Regions from separate parts of the Homo sapiens genome. Here region 1 is linked to region 2. The links are contacts of gene promoters, found by promoter capture Hi-C in blood cells and fetal thymus (Javierre and others, 2016). All regions are on one chromosome and are shown on one strand. Each heading gives the region's core, a stretch centred on a gene start or on the middle of the fragment in contact. The rest is flanking DNA. Distances are from core to core; before and after follow the strand shown.

The links. Contacts are between HindIII fragments. The CHiCAGO score rates a contact against its expected background, and 5 or more counts as called.
Region 1: a contact is called between a fragment that was not itself captured here and the fragment with the promoter of ZNF605 in region 2, in 9 of 17 cell types (M1 macrophages, M2 macrophages, naive CD8 T cells and 6 more). The highest score is 8.4, in M1 macrophages.

Annotation. Positions count from the first base shown.
Region 1 is chr12:133,151,246-133,158,322 of GRCh38, forward strand. ZNF10 (zinc finger protein 10) reads left to right here. Exons shown (of 5, transcript NM_015394.5): 4 at 564-659; 5 at 4,258-7,077. The coding sequence ends at 5,723. Among named protein-coding and RNA genes, the nearest start is that of ZNF10, 24 kb to the left of the region's middle. RefSeq lists an enhancer at 3,964-5,163. The HindIII fragment of the contact is 4,637 bases long and covers 1,849-6,485 here.
Region 2 is chr12:132,952,070-132,959,048 of GRCh38, forward strand. ZNF605 (zinc finger protein 605) reads right to left here and starts at 4,237. Exons shown (of 5, transcript NM_183238.4): 1 at 4,174-4,237. It overlaps LOC124903064 (a long non-coding RNA gene), which reads left to right and starts at 4,480. Exons shown (of 2, transcript XR_007063552.1): 1 at 4,480-4,661. RefSeq lists enhancers at 2,955-3,785, 3,214-3,508, 3,786-4,614, 4,368-4,447 and a silencer at 3,868-4,207. The HindIII fragment of the contact is 12,358 bases long and covers 3,328-6,979 here.

The sequences.
Region 1 (7,077 bases), core at 2,917-5,416, 200 kb after region 2:
TGGCGTTCAGAGACCTAATTTCTTTGAGGCATAGAACAGGGTTTTTTTACTCCAGCTTTTGTGGAAAACTTGTTTTAATGTATTGAAGTTTTAAAAATGCCTCTTTAAGGAGTTTTCTGGCTGGGCATGGTGGCTCACGCCTGTAATTCCAGCACTTTGGGAGGCCGAGGTGAGCAGATCACAAGGTCAAGAGATTGAGACCATCCTGACCAACATGGTGAAACCCCGTCTCTACTAAAAATACAAAAATTAGCTGGGCGTGGTGGCGTGCTCCTATAGTCCCAGCTACTTGGGAGGCTGAGGCAGGAGAATCACTTGAACCCCGGAAGTGGAGGTTGCAGTGAGCCAAGATTATGCCACTGCACTCCAGCCTGGCAACAGAGAGAGACTCCATCTCAAAATAAATAAATAAAATAAAATAAGTTTTCCTGCCTCTGTCAACTTTAGAGTCCCTGCCAGTCCTGCAGAGGGTTGGTGGTCAGGTTGAATCTGAGATGTTTCTTCGTGCCTACCTCAGAGCTCCCCTGACTCTTACCCTGTTCTTTGTCTTTCACTGTGAACAGGTTATCAGCTTACTAAGCCAGATGTGATCCTCCGGTTGGAGAAGGGAGAAGAGCCCTGGCTGGTGGAGAGAGAAATTCACCAAGAGACCCATCCTGGTGAGGACCAGTCAAGAGTTGTCATAGGCAGCAGCCCAGATGGGCTGTGAGGTGCCAGAACTTCTAGAGATAGTGGTCACTGGCCCTCCTCACAGGCCCTTCTTCCTGGGAAGACTGAGTTTATCTGGCCCCTGTTTCCCCACTGCCAGTCTTTACATTCCATTTGCATTCAGAGGCAAAGGTTTCTCTGTCTGTTGACGTGCTTGGTTTCAGCGCTTGCACGTGTCGCTCTCCTAATTGTTACCACTCACTCTAGCATCTTGTGCTTTCGTTTGTCATAGAATCACTTCTTGCATTTTTGCCTCTCTTTGTTCTTTCATGTGACCCCTTCCCACAACTCAGTTCTCTGTGCAAGCTCTGGAGTGGGACTCTTATCACCTTCTTTTCTGAGAGTTTGTTTTCTGCCAGGTAGAAAACTGCTGCAGAGAGCTCATAATTCCTGTTGCCTCAACTCTCCTTCCTTTCCAGAATGGCTGCTCACAGAAACACCAGTTTTTCCTACTGTACTTTAGATCTTTTTTTCTTTTCGAGATGGAGTTTCACTCAGTCTCCCAGGCTGGAGTGTAGTGGCGCGATCTAGGCTCACTGCAACCTCCGCCTCCCAGGTTTAAGCGATTCTTCCGCCTTAGCCTCCCAAAGAACCAGGAATTACAGGCATGCACCACCACGCCCAGCTAATTTTTGTATTTTTAGGAGAGATAGGGTTTTACCATGTTGGCTAGGCTGGTCTCGAACTCCTGACCTCAAGTGATCCGCCCACCTCGGCCTTCCAAAGTGCTGGGATTACAGGCGTGAGCCACCATGCCCAGCCTCTATCTAGTTTTGTATTTAATGTTTTAAAAATTTATTTATAGGCATTTCCCTGCATCTCAGACTTTGAGTGTGATGTAAATTAAATCTGAGTCTTACTTGTCCTGTAATTTAGCCTCAAGTTCTTTCCCATGAAGGCTTTTATGATTCCTCATTAAGTATTGGCCTCTTCCTCTTCTGAACTTCCACTTAGTTTAAATCTCTACTTTGAAATATTATCATAAGCTCTTTTTTACTTTTTAGTATTTGCCTTGTAGGTGATTGTATCAAAATGGTATCTCAAAGCAAGTCTTTCTTTGGGACCATGGGAGGAAATATTGTTATATTTTCTTTTTATTACTTACCTTCTTTCTTTCTTTTCTATTTTGTTCATCTAGTAAGCTTTCCTGAATGTCTGTTGACAAGTATCCAAAAATAACAATTATTAACTGGACCCAGCAGTTTATATTTTTATTGAGAATTTATTGTCAAAAGAAATACTCAGACTTCATGGGCTTAAAGGCATGGAGTTTTACAGAATCTACAAGGCTGTTAAATTCATTATCAAATCAAAAAATATAATGAATGATGATTTTTAAAAATCAGATGATTAGTTGATTGATGGGTCCAACAGACTTCGACAATAACTTACTGGCATGGTTGTATTACATAATATGTGGAAGATTTTAGGATATTAATAAAACACCTCATTCTTATGACCAAACTCTCCACTCAGAATTGTCCTCCATAAGTGCTCAGCACCCCCCTTATCATAGATATTCTTCATAGAATCTTCCAGTTGGCATTTGTAGGTTGAAAAACTTCTCCATAAGATTTTCTGATGTTCTGGGTTGGGGAAAGGGAGGAAAGGGTGGTGTATTTCCTATTAAAAATCATCAGGATGGGGAAGAAACTAGGAACTAACTAAGTGGTAAGGGACAGGACTGGTCGGGGTGGGATTGTATAAGGAAGTCATTTAGGGACCAGGCCTGGCACAGGGATCATTTACCAGGTGTATTAGTTTCCTGGGGCTGCGGTAACAAAGAACCAGCAGTTAGGTGGCTCAAAACAACCAAAATGTATCATGTCACAGCTGGAGGCTGTTAAGTCTAAAATGAAGATGTCAGTGGGGCTCTGCTACGCTTCTAGGAGAGGGTCTTTCCTTATCTCTTCCAGGCTCTGCTGGCCCCAGGTGTTCCTTGGCTTGTGGATATATCATTCCAGTCTTGGTCTCCATGTTCACATGGTCTCTTCCCCTGTGTCTGTGTCTTTTTTATGGAGGACCACCCTCATACTGGATTAGGGGCCCATCCTATTTCTGGTACTACCTCATCATAACTAATTACATCTGGAAAGACTGTATTTCCAAATATGGTCATATTCTGAGATACTGAGGATTAAAACTTCAACATACCTTTTTGTCGGCGGGGGGGATACAGTTTAACCCATAATACCAGGTAAGAGTGGAATGTCACCCCACTTATGTAAGATGAAGTGGTATCATCAGTGTATTTTTTAGGTTTGGGATTATATGTTTTACCTGAAAGACATTGAGAAACAGATAAAGCTCTTATTCAAGAGAAATAATTTGCAGTAATATACACAGGTAGCAGATGGCAGAAATTCTAAGAGCGTATGGGTCAGGCTTCAGATTCTAAGTTCACATCTTGTGGTAGTAGTCCTATCAGTTGTTAAGTCCTTATGTTTCAGAGCGAAGAAATCAAAAAAATGAGAAGAATGATGATGATTATTGTAAATCTTATTGCTTTGACCATAAATGTGCCAGAGACTGTAATAGGCTCATGCTTTATATAATATAATAATCTTAAATAACAAATACTGTCATCCTTAGATTACAGATAAGCAAAATGAATTCTTCAAAGTTTAGCAACTCGTCTAAATTCACCACTAGTCGTAATATAAAACTTAGAACTTGCATCTTGGTAACTTTTGTGCAGTTACTCTTCCACCTTGTCATGTAGCTGCTCTGAGAGGTCTGTTGTGTCACTCATCTGGGTGTTATTCTATAGTGCTTCTGTGATTTGGATAGAAAGCATTGCCTGACGTATGGCTGCATTCATGGTTTAAGAATACTAAATTGGGCCGGACGCACTGGCTCACGCCTATAATCCCAGCACTTTGGGAGGCTAAGGCGGGTGGATCACCTGAAGTCAGGAGTTCAAGACCAGCCTGGCCAACATAGTGAAACCCTGTCTCTGCTAAAAATATTAAAAATTAACCAGGCATGGTGGCAGGTGCCTGTAATCCCAGCTACTTGGGAGGCTGAGGCAGGAGAATCATTTGAACCTGGGAGGCGGAGGTTGCATTGAGCCAAGATTGTGTCATTGCACTCCAGCCTGGACAACAAGAGCGAAACTGTCTCAAAAAAAAAAAAAAGAGAGAGAATACTAAATTGATAGTAATGTGAAGAATGTGTGTCAGGGGAAAGTCCTGACAACAAGTAGACAGGTGAGGAACTTAGACTGTTAATATCTGGATTAGAAAATGAGAGTGCAGTCCTTTTTATGGAATTTCCCTTATTTCTACCCTCACCATTGATACCCTGATCCCATGTGTCATGCTGTGTCCTGTGGCTTCTCCTTACTCCTTTTGCCCTTTGTGAGTACTGTATACCACAATGCATTTATTGTTTACCGCTCCATTCTTCCTTTTCTCATTCTCTATCAAAGTTATAAAGCCATATTTGAAAGCAACTGTGTACATCTTGCATACTTTGTCTCCACATACATCCTAGCATTCTCACCTTAATACTCTGTTTAGTTACACAAACATTTTTCATTTCTTTCAGATTCAGAGACTGCATTTGAAATCAAATCATCAGTTTCCAGCAGGAGCATTTTTAAAGATAAGCAATCCTGTGACATTAAAATGGAAGGAATGGCAAGGAATGATCTCTGGTATTTGTCATTAGAAGAAGTCTGGAAATGTAGAGACCAGTTAGACAAGTATCAGGAAAACCCAGAGAGACATTTGAGGCAAGTGGCATTCACCCAAAAGAAAGTACTTACTCAGGAGAGAGTCTCTGAAAGTGGTAAATATGGGGGAAACTGTCTTCTTCCTGCTCAGCTAGTACTGAGAGAGTATTTCCATAAACGTGACTCACATACTAAAAGTTTAAAACATGATTTAGTTCTTAATGGTCATCAGGACAGTTGTGCAAGTAACAGTAATGAATGTGGTCAAACTTTCTGTCAAAACATTCACCTTATTCAGTTTGCAAGAACTCACACAGGTGATAAATCCTACAAATGCCCTGATAATGACAACTCTCTTACTCATGGTTCATCTCTTGGTATATCAAAGGGCATACATAGAGAGAAACCCTATGAATGTAAGGAATGTGGAAAATTCTTCAGCTGGCGCTCTAATCTTACTAGGCATCAGCTTATTCATACTGGAGAAAAACCCTATGAGTGTAAAGAATGTGGAAAGTCTTTCAGCCGGAGTTCTCACCTCATTGGACATCAAAAGACCCATACTGGTGAGGAACCCTATGAATGTAAAGAATGTGGAAAATCCTTCAGCTGGTTCTCTCACCTTGTTACTCATCAGAGAACTCATACAGGAGACAAACTGTACACATGTAATCAGTGTGGGAAATCTTTTGTTCATAGCTCTAGGCTTATTAGACACCAGAGGACACATACTGGAGAGAAACCCTATGAATGTCCTGAATGTGGGAAATCTTTCAGACAGAGCACACATCTCATTCTGCATCAGAGAACCCATGTGAGAGTGAGGCCCTATGAATGCAATGAATGTGGAAAGTCTTACAGCCAGAGATCTCACCTTGTTGTGCATCATAGAATTCACACTGGACTAAAACCTTTTGAGTGTAAGGATTGTGGAAAATGTTTTAGTCGAAGCTCTCACCTTTATTCACATCAAAGAACCCACACTGGAGAGAAACCATATGAGTGTCATGATTGTGGAAAATCTTTCAGCCAGAGTTCTGCCCTTATTGTGCATCAGAGGATACACACTGGAGAGAAACCATATGAATGCTGTCAGTGTGGGAAAGCCTTCATCCGGAAGAATGACCTCATTAAGCACCAGAGAATTCATGTTGGAGAAGAGACCTATAAATGTAATCAATGTGGCATTATCTTCAGCCAGAACTCTCCATTTATAGTTCATCAAATAGCTCACACTGGAGAGCAGTTCTTAACATGCAATCAATGTGGGACAGCGCTTGTTAATACCTCTAACCTTATTGGATACCAGACAAATCATATTAGAGAAAATGCTTACTAATAAATATGGGAATTTTTCACAAAGAGCAATGACTTTATTTTGCATTGGAGAACTCCTGGAGATAAGCTGTACAAATTGAATCTATGTGGAAATGCTTTCAGTCTTGTTACTATCCTATTGCACATTAGAGAATTGGTCCTGGAAGGGAAAGAAACCACAGATTTTATTTCAGTACACAAATCCATCAGATTTTCTTCTTTTCATGAATTCCTACAGAAGTAATTGGCCTGAGAGCATTCTTGACCAAGTCTTAAATGCTAGAATCTGAGAAGGAATTATTAAATAGGTGAGTTGTTGAGCGAGAACCCCTTCATTTGAAAAGAAATGAGTATGCTACTATAGGGAGAGTTGTTGCTGAGAATTAAGAAATGATACAGTTAATGCAACAAAAGATGGAAAATAATATTTCAGTCAATATGTCATTGTTTTCTTGACTATGTCTCTCTTCTGGGACATTTAGTAGTGTTTGGTATGTTTTATGTGTCTGGTAGAAACCATATTTTGGTTAACAGCAAGAAAAATGCTTATAATGTAGTACAATTAAAAACAACACATCTCCACTACCAGTGCTAACCCATTTTTAAGTACATTTGCATGTGGGCAAGAATTGAAAGTATACAGATAATTGAACAGAATTGATTTGTTAGATAAGGAGATTTTGACTGAGTTTTATAGTCTGTTTAATGTTGCTGTAATAATTATTTTAAGAAACTTTTAAATATTGTAAGAGGATATCTAGTTTCTCTATTCTACCATCAAAGAAGCTTTTGAGTACCACCTGTTAATGAGCTTTCCTATTCTAAATTGTTTTGGGTCACAGAGTTCCACTTTTTCCACTCTTATTAGCACTGCAAAAGCTCCTGAGAATTTAAAAACACAGTAATTCTCTGGATGTTAGGACCTAGGGGAACATTGGGCATTTGAACATATCAGGGAGGGTCCCCATTTTAGTGGGAACAAGTATTTAAACAATATTTAGAGCAAGTGTCCTCATGTGATAAACAGAGCACAGTCCAAAGATACCCTCTTTCTCAAGGTAGTCTTTTATCTTTATAAAGAAAGATTAGTGTTTAAGAGCGTAGACTTGAGCTAGACTACCCAGGTTGAAACCCCACTAGCTGGGTGATCTTGAACATGCTGCTTAGCTTCTCTGTGCCAAACTTACTGATATCCTCATCTGTAAATTAGCGATAATAATAGTACTTACCTGGTAGGATTATGGTGAGTATTAAATGAGTAAATGGAAACAGCTTAGAATAGTGCCTGACATATATTATGTTCTCTGTAGTTACTGGCTGTGATTATTAATAATATTGCCGCACCCTAATATCTGTTATTTAATTGAAATCTGCTT
Region 2 (6,979 bases), core at 2,987-5,486:
GGAAAGACCACTCAACAAGATGTACGGTGTCTCTGCCCTCTAGGGAAACAGCCAAGTAAATAAATGATTTCTGACTGTGAGCGCTCAGAAGAAATTTTAACTGTGGGCCAGGCGCGGTGGCTCACGCCTGTAATCCCAGCACTTTGGGAGGCTGAGGCGGTAGGCAGATCACTTGAGGTCAGGAGTTCGAGACCAGCCTGGCCAACATGGTGAAACCCCATCTTTACTAAAAATACAAAAAATTAGCCGGGCATGGTGGCGGGCACCTGTAATCCCAGCTACTGGGGGCGTTGAGGCGGAAGAATCACTGGAACCCAGGAGATGGAGGTTGCAGTGAGCTGAGATCACGCCACTGCACTCAAGCATGGGCGACTCTGTCTCAAAAAAAAAAAAAAAAAAAGGAAATTTTAACTGTGACCAAGGGATGAATGGGCAGAAGATATTCCTCCCAGACGTCGTAGAGGCTTGTGGGAGGAGGTGGCTTTTAGCTGAGCCTGAAGCAGGAGCAGTCCGCCACGGAAGGCTGGGCCGACCACACCACTCCAGGCACCTCAGATGCAAAGGTCTTGGGTGGGGGAGCCGGAGGTCATCAGGAGGGATGGAAGAGGCCTAGGAGGTACAAACAGCAAGGGGGAAATTCTACAAGGAGAAGACCTTAAGGCCAACGGGGTCACTGAGAACTTTTAAAAAAGGAAATAATCACGTAAAAAGAGTGATCACTGATCAGCGGTCACAAGCTACAAGGAGAGGGCCAAAGGGCAAAAAGACCTGTCACTCACGAGAGGCTTGCCTGAGCCAACCCACGACCCATTCACATTCGGATCTGCTTCCAGACCCACCAACACGGCCCTGCCAAGTTCCCCGGATTACCAAGTCCCAGAGAGGGCCTCCATCACACACACACCCCAGACACAAACCACTGAACTCCGCAGCTCCAAGCCCCTGCCAACCTCCAGCATCCCAAGTCCCCCAGTCACTCACAGTGACCACCTGAGAATTCTCCAGGTCCACATCCCAAGACATCCCCAGATCACTGAATCCAATAGGCCTGCTTCACAGACCTCCAGACCACACAACCACCGAACCCCATCAACCCCACTCTCACTCACCCCATGTGCCCCCATCACTCCCACAGGACCACAATGGCTGACTTCACAGGCCACCCAGTCTCTCTCCCCAAGAGGCCGCCCCTCCAGGGCCTTCAGAGACACACACTATGGGTTCCCCAGTGACCATCCAACAAAGACCCCAGGCGGTAACTCTAGTGGCCCCACAACAGCCTCCAGAAACACCTGACCACAGACTCCACAGACTGGCACAGTATAGACCACTAATCACAGATACCCAAAGGCCACTAACTTATTATTATCTTTTTTAAGATGGAGTCTCACTCTGTCATCAGGCTGGAGTGCAGTGGCAAAATCTCGGTTCACTGCAACCTCTGCCTCCTGGGTTCAAGCAATTCTCCTGCCTCAGCCTCCTGAGTAGGTGGGATTACAGGCGCCCACCACCATGCCCAGCTAATTTTTGTATTTTTAGTAGAGACGGGGTTTCACCATGTTGGCCAGGATGGTGTGGATCTCTTGACCTCCTGATCTGCCTGCCTCAGCCTCCCAAAGTGCTGGGATTACAGGTGTGAGCCACGGTGCCCAGCTAAGGCCACTAACTTCTAACTCCACATTCACCGCAAATGGCAAACAAACTCTTAGGCTCCCCAGGCTTCCCTCTCACTGACACCCACAGGGTCCCCAATTTCTCACCCTCACCCACCCGCACACCCATCACAGACACTTGCACGCATACTTGGCATTGATCCCAAGCCCTCCGATCATTCCTCCTCACAGACCTCACTGCCCACCCCATCAGTCATTCAGTCATCTCTGGTACCCGGTCACTAATACAAACAAGCTCCTTCTCACCTGGTTCCAACACCCTCAAATAACAAAGCCAATGCCAGGGCACGAGCCAATAAAACTGTCCCCCATTCAACGATGTACACTGGACCCTTTATTCCTAATCCTCCACAGGCCCCCAGACACTTACCATTCCTACGTCACACCATAGACCTCACAGGCCAGGCAGAGTTATCCCTACAGGCCCAACTGATGACTGGACCTCAGTGACTCCCACAGGGCTTTTAAATACAGATGCCAGACACCATAATCACCAGCACCCCCAAAGCCCCACTTAAGAATCACCACAGACTGAAACCCCAAACTCTGAGTCCCAAAGGATCCCCACAGAACTCAGATACTCCTGCAGATGAGCTGGGGAGGGGAGGAGAAGGGTGGGGAGCGGGGGAGAAGGGGCTTCAGTCACTCCTGCAGGTGAGGTGGGGAGGGGATGAGAAGGATGGGGGAGGAGAAGGGTAGGGAGGGGAGGAGAAGGGTGGGGAGGGGAGGAGAAGGGGCTTCTGTCCTGGGACGAACACACTGGTCTCCATTCACTCACTTCATCAGGTGCCCAAGTCAGGCGCTCACAGAGCCCCTCCCCTGTAACTGACATTCTGAGGCTTGCGCCACAGACCCCCTAAATTAGACCCCAGTCACTCAATGCCCAGGGATCCCTAATCCCTTATCCCCGGGGCCCCCAAGCATTCGCCCCCATGACACCCCATTCTCTAATCCACTCCATGCTGGAGCATTCACTGACATTCCCACAGGCCCTCCCAAACACCACCTGGAAAGGGATTGTGGGGCTCTGCACAAATGCCGATCCCGCAGGCCCCTCCAATGACGCCAAGTATGACCCCCGTTGTCCACGCACTCACAACTTGCAACAGGTCCACCATTAACTTACATCCAGACTCCCTTGTCACAAATACACAGCGCCATTCCTAATGCTTCCATCATAAGATCCCCAAACACAAGCACAGAAACAAACCCCAGCCACTCGCCAGCATAGGCCACCCCATACTCGCCTCCGCTATTGGAGACAGGGGTTGAAAGAGCAACCACTGTTATTCAGCTGTCAAATAAAACATACAACTGGACAGAGCAAAGAAAGACGGTTCCAAAGGGTTATTGGAAGTGGGGAAAAAAAGACGCGGAAGAGGGTTGGGAAGGGGAAGGAGAACGGGCTTCTGGGAAGAACCGTGAAGCCACGAGACTCACGTGCATCTCTGCAAGGCAAAAAGGGTTTTTCTTTCACAGAGAGGTGTGAACAAGGTTAGCAAAGACCAGGCCTGGCCAAGCGAGGTGGAAGTGCGGGCGACCAGACAGCAGAGCGGGGAAAGCTTGACCCTGAGCCAGCCTGTTCTCAGGCGAGGCTGCGTGTTGGCTCAGGCTGGGGATGGGCCAAAGCTCAAGAAAATGGGGAAAGGAAAGAAGCTTAGCTAAAGTTTGCTTAAGGAGCATTTTGCTCCGACCGCTCGGTGGAGTTCAGCCAGTCACCGATGAGGCAAGCGACGGCAACGTGGCAGGTCTGTGTGAACAAGGGGCATCCTGGAGGCTGACCAAAGTCATATAGGGAACGGGAGATCTTTGCAGTGAGCCATTTGCTGGAACCCAAAAGGGTGGGAAATTCCTCAACCTTCGCTGTTTTCCAGGAGCACAGGGCTCTGGTGAAATCCAACACTGTCACAGCCGGCAGGCTTTCCAGTGAATGGAACCCACACAAGCAAGCCCCTAAGCCCTCCAACGCAGGCCCCCGCAGAAGCCTCATCATTCACCCCGCTGGCCTCCAATGCTCACCCAAAGGCATCCAAATCATTCATCAGCAGAGTCCTAATCGCTGCAGACAAATCCTCCACACGGCCTCCCAGGGGCCCCTCTCCCCTGGGGCCAAGGGCAACCTCGCGTCCCCTTGCCCCGCCCGTGCTGCACCCCAAGTCTACAGCGACCTCCATAGGCCCCCAGTGAATCGCCCAGCTGACCCCAAATCTCCCCCGACACCCACATTCAGCGCCCCGCCGCCGCCCGCCCTACAGCCCCCACCCCACCCTCTGCCTCCCACCCCCGCGCGCCCCCAGAGCCCCCGCCTGAGGCCCGCCTTCCGCGCATGCGCCCAGGCCGGTCCGCAGGCCTTTCTCGCCCCAGCCGGCAGCCAGCTCGTTCGCGCTGGGGTCACCGCGAGCCGGTCCGCAGCGGGGTCACCGCGATCCCCGGCGCAGACACAGAGGCCGCCCCCAGCCCCGCCGCCTCGTGGTCCCGCCCCCGCTGCACGCTCCCTTACCCCTCGGACCTCGCAGGGCCGCGGCGGACACGGCCCGATCGGGGACGTGAACGCGCAGAACTACATTTCCCAGCGTCCCGCTCGCGCTGGAACTACACTTCCCGGGGGGCTCGGCGGTGCACCCGCCGGGGTCGCGGATTGGAGGTTTCCGGTTGGAAAAGCCCCTTGGCGGCTAACTGGGGAGGACTGGAAGAAATCTAGGATGGAGCCAGCACTGCTGGCCCAACATGTCTGTGAGAGAACCTAAAGGCGCCTCCAGGAGGAAGCGTCTGCATCTTTTCCTTGTTTTTTTTTTTTTTTTTTTTGGAGGCAGGGTCTCGCTCTGTCACCCAGTGGGGAGTGCAGTGGTGCCATGAACGCTCATTGCAGCCTCAGGCTGGTCTCCGACTCCTGGGTTCAAATGATCCTCCTGCCCCAGCCTCCCAAAATGCTGGAATTACAGGCATGAGTCACTGCGTCCGGCTGCTTTTCCATTTTTCATCGTAGCTGTAAGTAATATCGGTAAATGTTAGTGTTACGTGCGTCCGTATAGGAGACCACCTGAGCAGGCTAAGTGTGAGCAACACGCCTGTTTATTCACTTGGGTGCAAGTGGGCTGAGTCTGAGAAAGGAGTCAGCGGAGGGTGGTGGGCTTGTCATTGGTTCTTATAGCTTTGGGATAGGATAGGCGGTGGAGTCAGCAGCAATTTTTTTTTTTTTTTTTTTTTTTGAGACAGAGTCTCACTCTGTCGCCGAGGCTGGAGTGCAGTGGCGCGATCTCGGCTCACTGCAAGCTCCGCCTCCCGGGTTCACGCCATTCTCCTGCCTCATCCTCCTGAGTAGCTGGGACTACAGGCACCCGCCACCACGCCCGGCTAATTTTTTTGTATTTTTAGTAGAGACGGGGTTTCACTGTGTTAGCCAGGATGGTCTTGATCTCCTGACCTCGTGATCCGCCCTCCTCGGCCTCCCAAAGTGCTGGGATTACGGGCGTGAGCCACCGCGCCCGGCCTCAGCAGCAATTTTTTGCGGGCAGGGGAGGATGTTACAAAGTACATTCACAAGGGCGGGGAGGGTGTATTGTCACAAGGGCGGAGAGGAATGTTACAAAGTACATTCACAAGGACCGGGAATATTACAAAGTACATTATCACAAGGGTGGGGGAATGTCACGATGGCTTGACCATGGTGCGGCCAGCTCAGAGGACCTTACATTTAGTACATCCAATCCAGCAGTATTGACAAAAGGAATGAAAATAGATGATAGGGTTGGGCGCGGTGGCTCACGGCTGTAATCCCAGCACTTTGGGAGGCTGAGGTGGGCGGATCACCAGGTCAGGAGATTGAGACCATCCTGGCCAACACGGTGAAACCCCGTCTCTACTAAAAATACAGAACATTAGCTGGGCGTGGTGGTGGGCGCCTGTAATCCCATCTACTCGGGAGGCTGAGGCAGGAGAATCACTTGAACTCGGGAGGCGGGGGTTGCGGTGAGCCATCATGCCGCTGCACTCTAGCCTGGCAACAGAGTGAGACCTCATCTCAAGAAAAAAAAAAGGAAAAATAAATGAGATGAGGACATTACAGGGAAATAAAATATATTTATGGATATATAAAGCAGTGGCTTGTCCCTGTAGTCCCAACTACTGGAGGCTGAGGCAGGAGGATTGCCTGAGCCTGGGAGGTTGAGGCTGCAGTGAGCTATGATGGCAACACTGCACTCCAGCCTGGGCCACAGAGGGAGACACCTTCTCTTAAAAATATTTTTTGGCCAGGCCAGGCGCGGTGGCTCACACCTGTAATCCCAGCACTTTGGGAGGCTAAGGCGGGCGGATCACCTGAGGTCAGGAGTTCGAGACCAGCCTGACCAACATGGTGAAACCCCATCTGTACTAAAAATATAAAAATTAGCCAGGTGTGGTGGCTCATGCCTGTAATGGCTCATACCTGTAATCCCACCTACTCAGGAGGTGGAGGCATGAGAATTGCTTGAACCCAGGAGGCAGAGGTTGCAGTGAGCTGAGATCTCACCACTGCACTCCACCCTGGGAGACAGAGTGAGATTCTGTCTAAAAAAAAAAAAAAAGAAAAAGAAAAACTGTAAAAGCATATTAGTTTTTTAAAATAAAAATGGGGAGAAACAGGAAACACACTCACAATTGGCAATTTAAAAAATTGAAATGGCCATAAAGACCAAATTAAAGTATATATGAAATAATATTTTGCTCAATTCTATATTAGTAAATTTGGAGCCTGTGAGAGATGGAGTTTTGCTCTTGTCGCCCAGGCTGGAGTGCAGTGGCACAATATCGGCTCACTGCAGCCTCCGCCTCCTGAGTTCAAGTGATTCTCCTGCCTCAGCCTCCCGAGTAGCTGGGATTGCAGGCGTGCGCCACCACGCCCGGCTAATTTTTGTATTTTTAGTAGAGACGTGGTTTCACCATGTTGGTCAGGCTGATCTTGATCTCTTAACCTCGTGATCCGCCTGCCTCGGCCTCCCGAAGTGCTGGGATTACAGGCGTGAGCCACTGCGCCCAGCCACTCCCAGCTACTTTTTGTATTTTTAGTAGAGATGGGTTTCACCATGTTGGCAAGGCTGGTCTCAAACTCCTGACCTCTGGTGATCCATGCGTCTCGGACTCCCAAAGTGCTGGGATTACAGACCTGAGCCACCGTACCCAGCCCACATTGCCCTGCTTCTAACTGAGATTCAACTTTATTTAAGCAAACCAATTCCATGCTCAACAGAGCTAAAATTAAAATTCTGCTTTAAGGTAGTTTTGTTTTTGTTCTCAGAAAATTTTGCTGTTCACAGATTTATGATTTT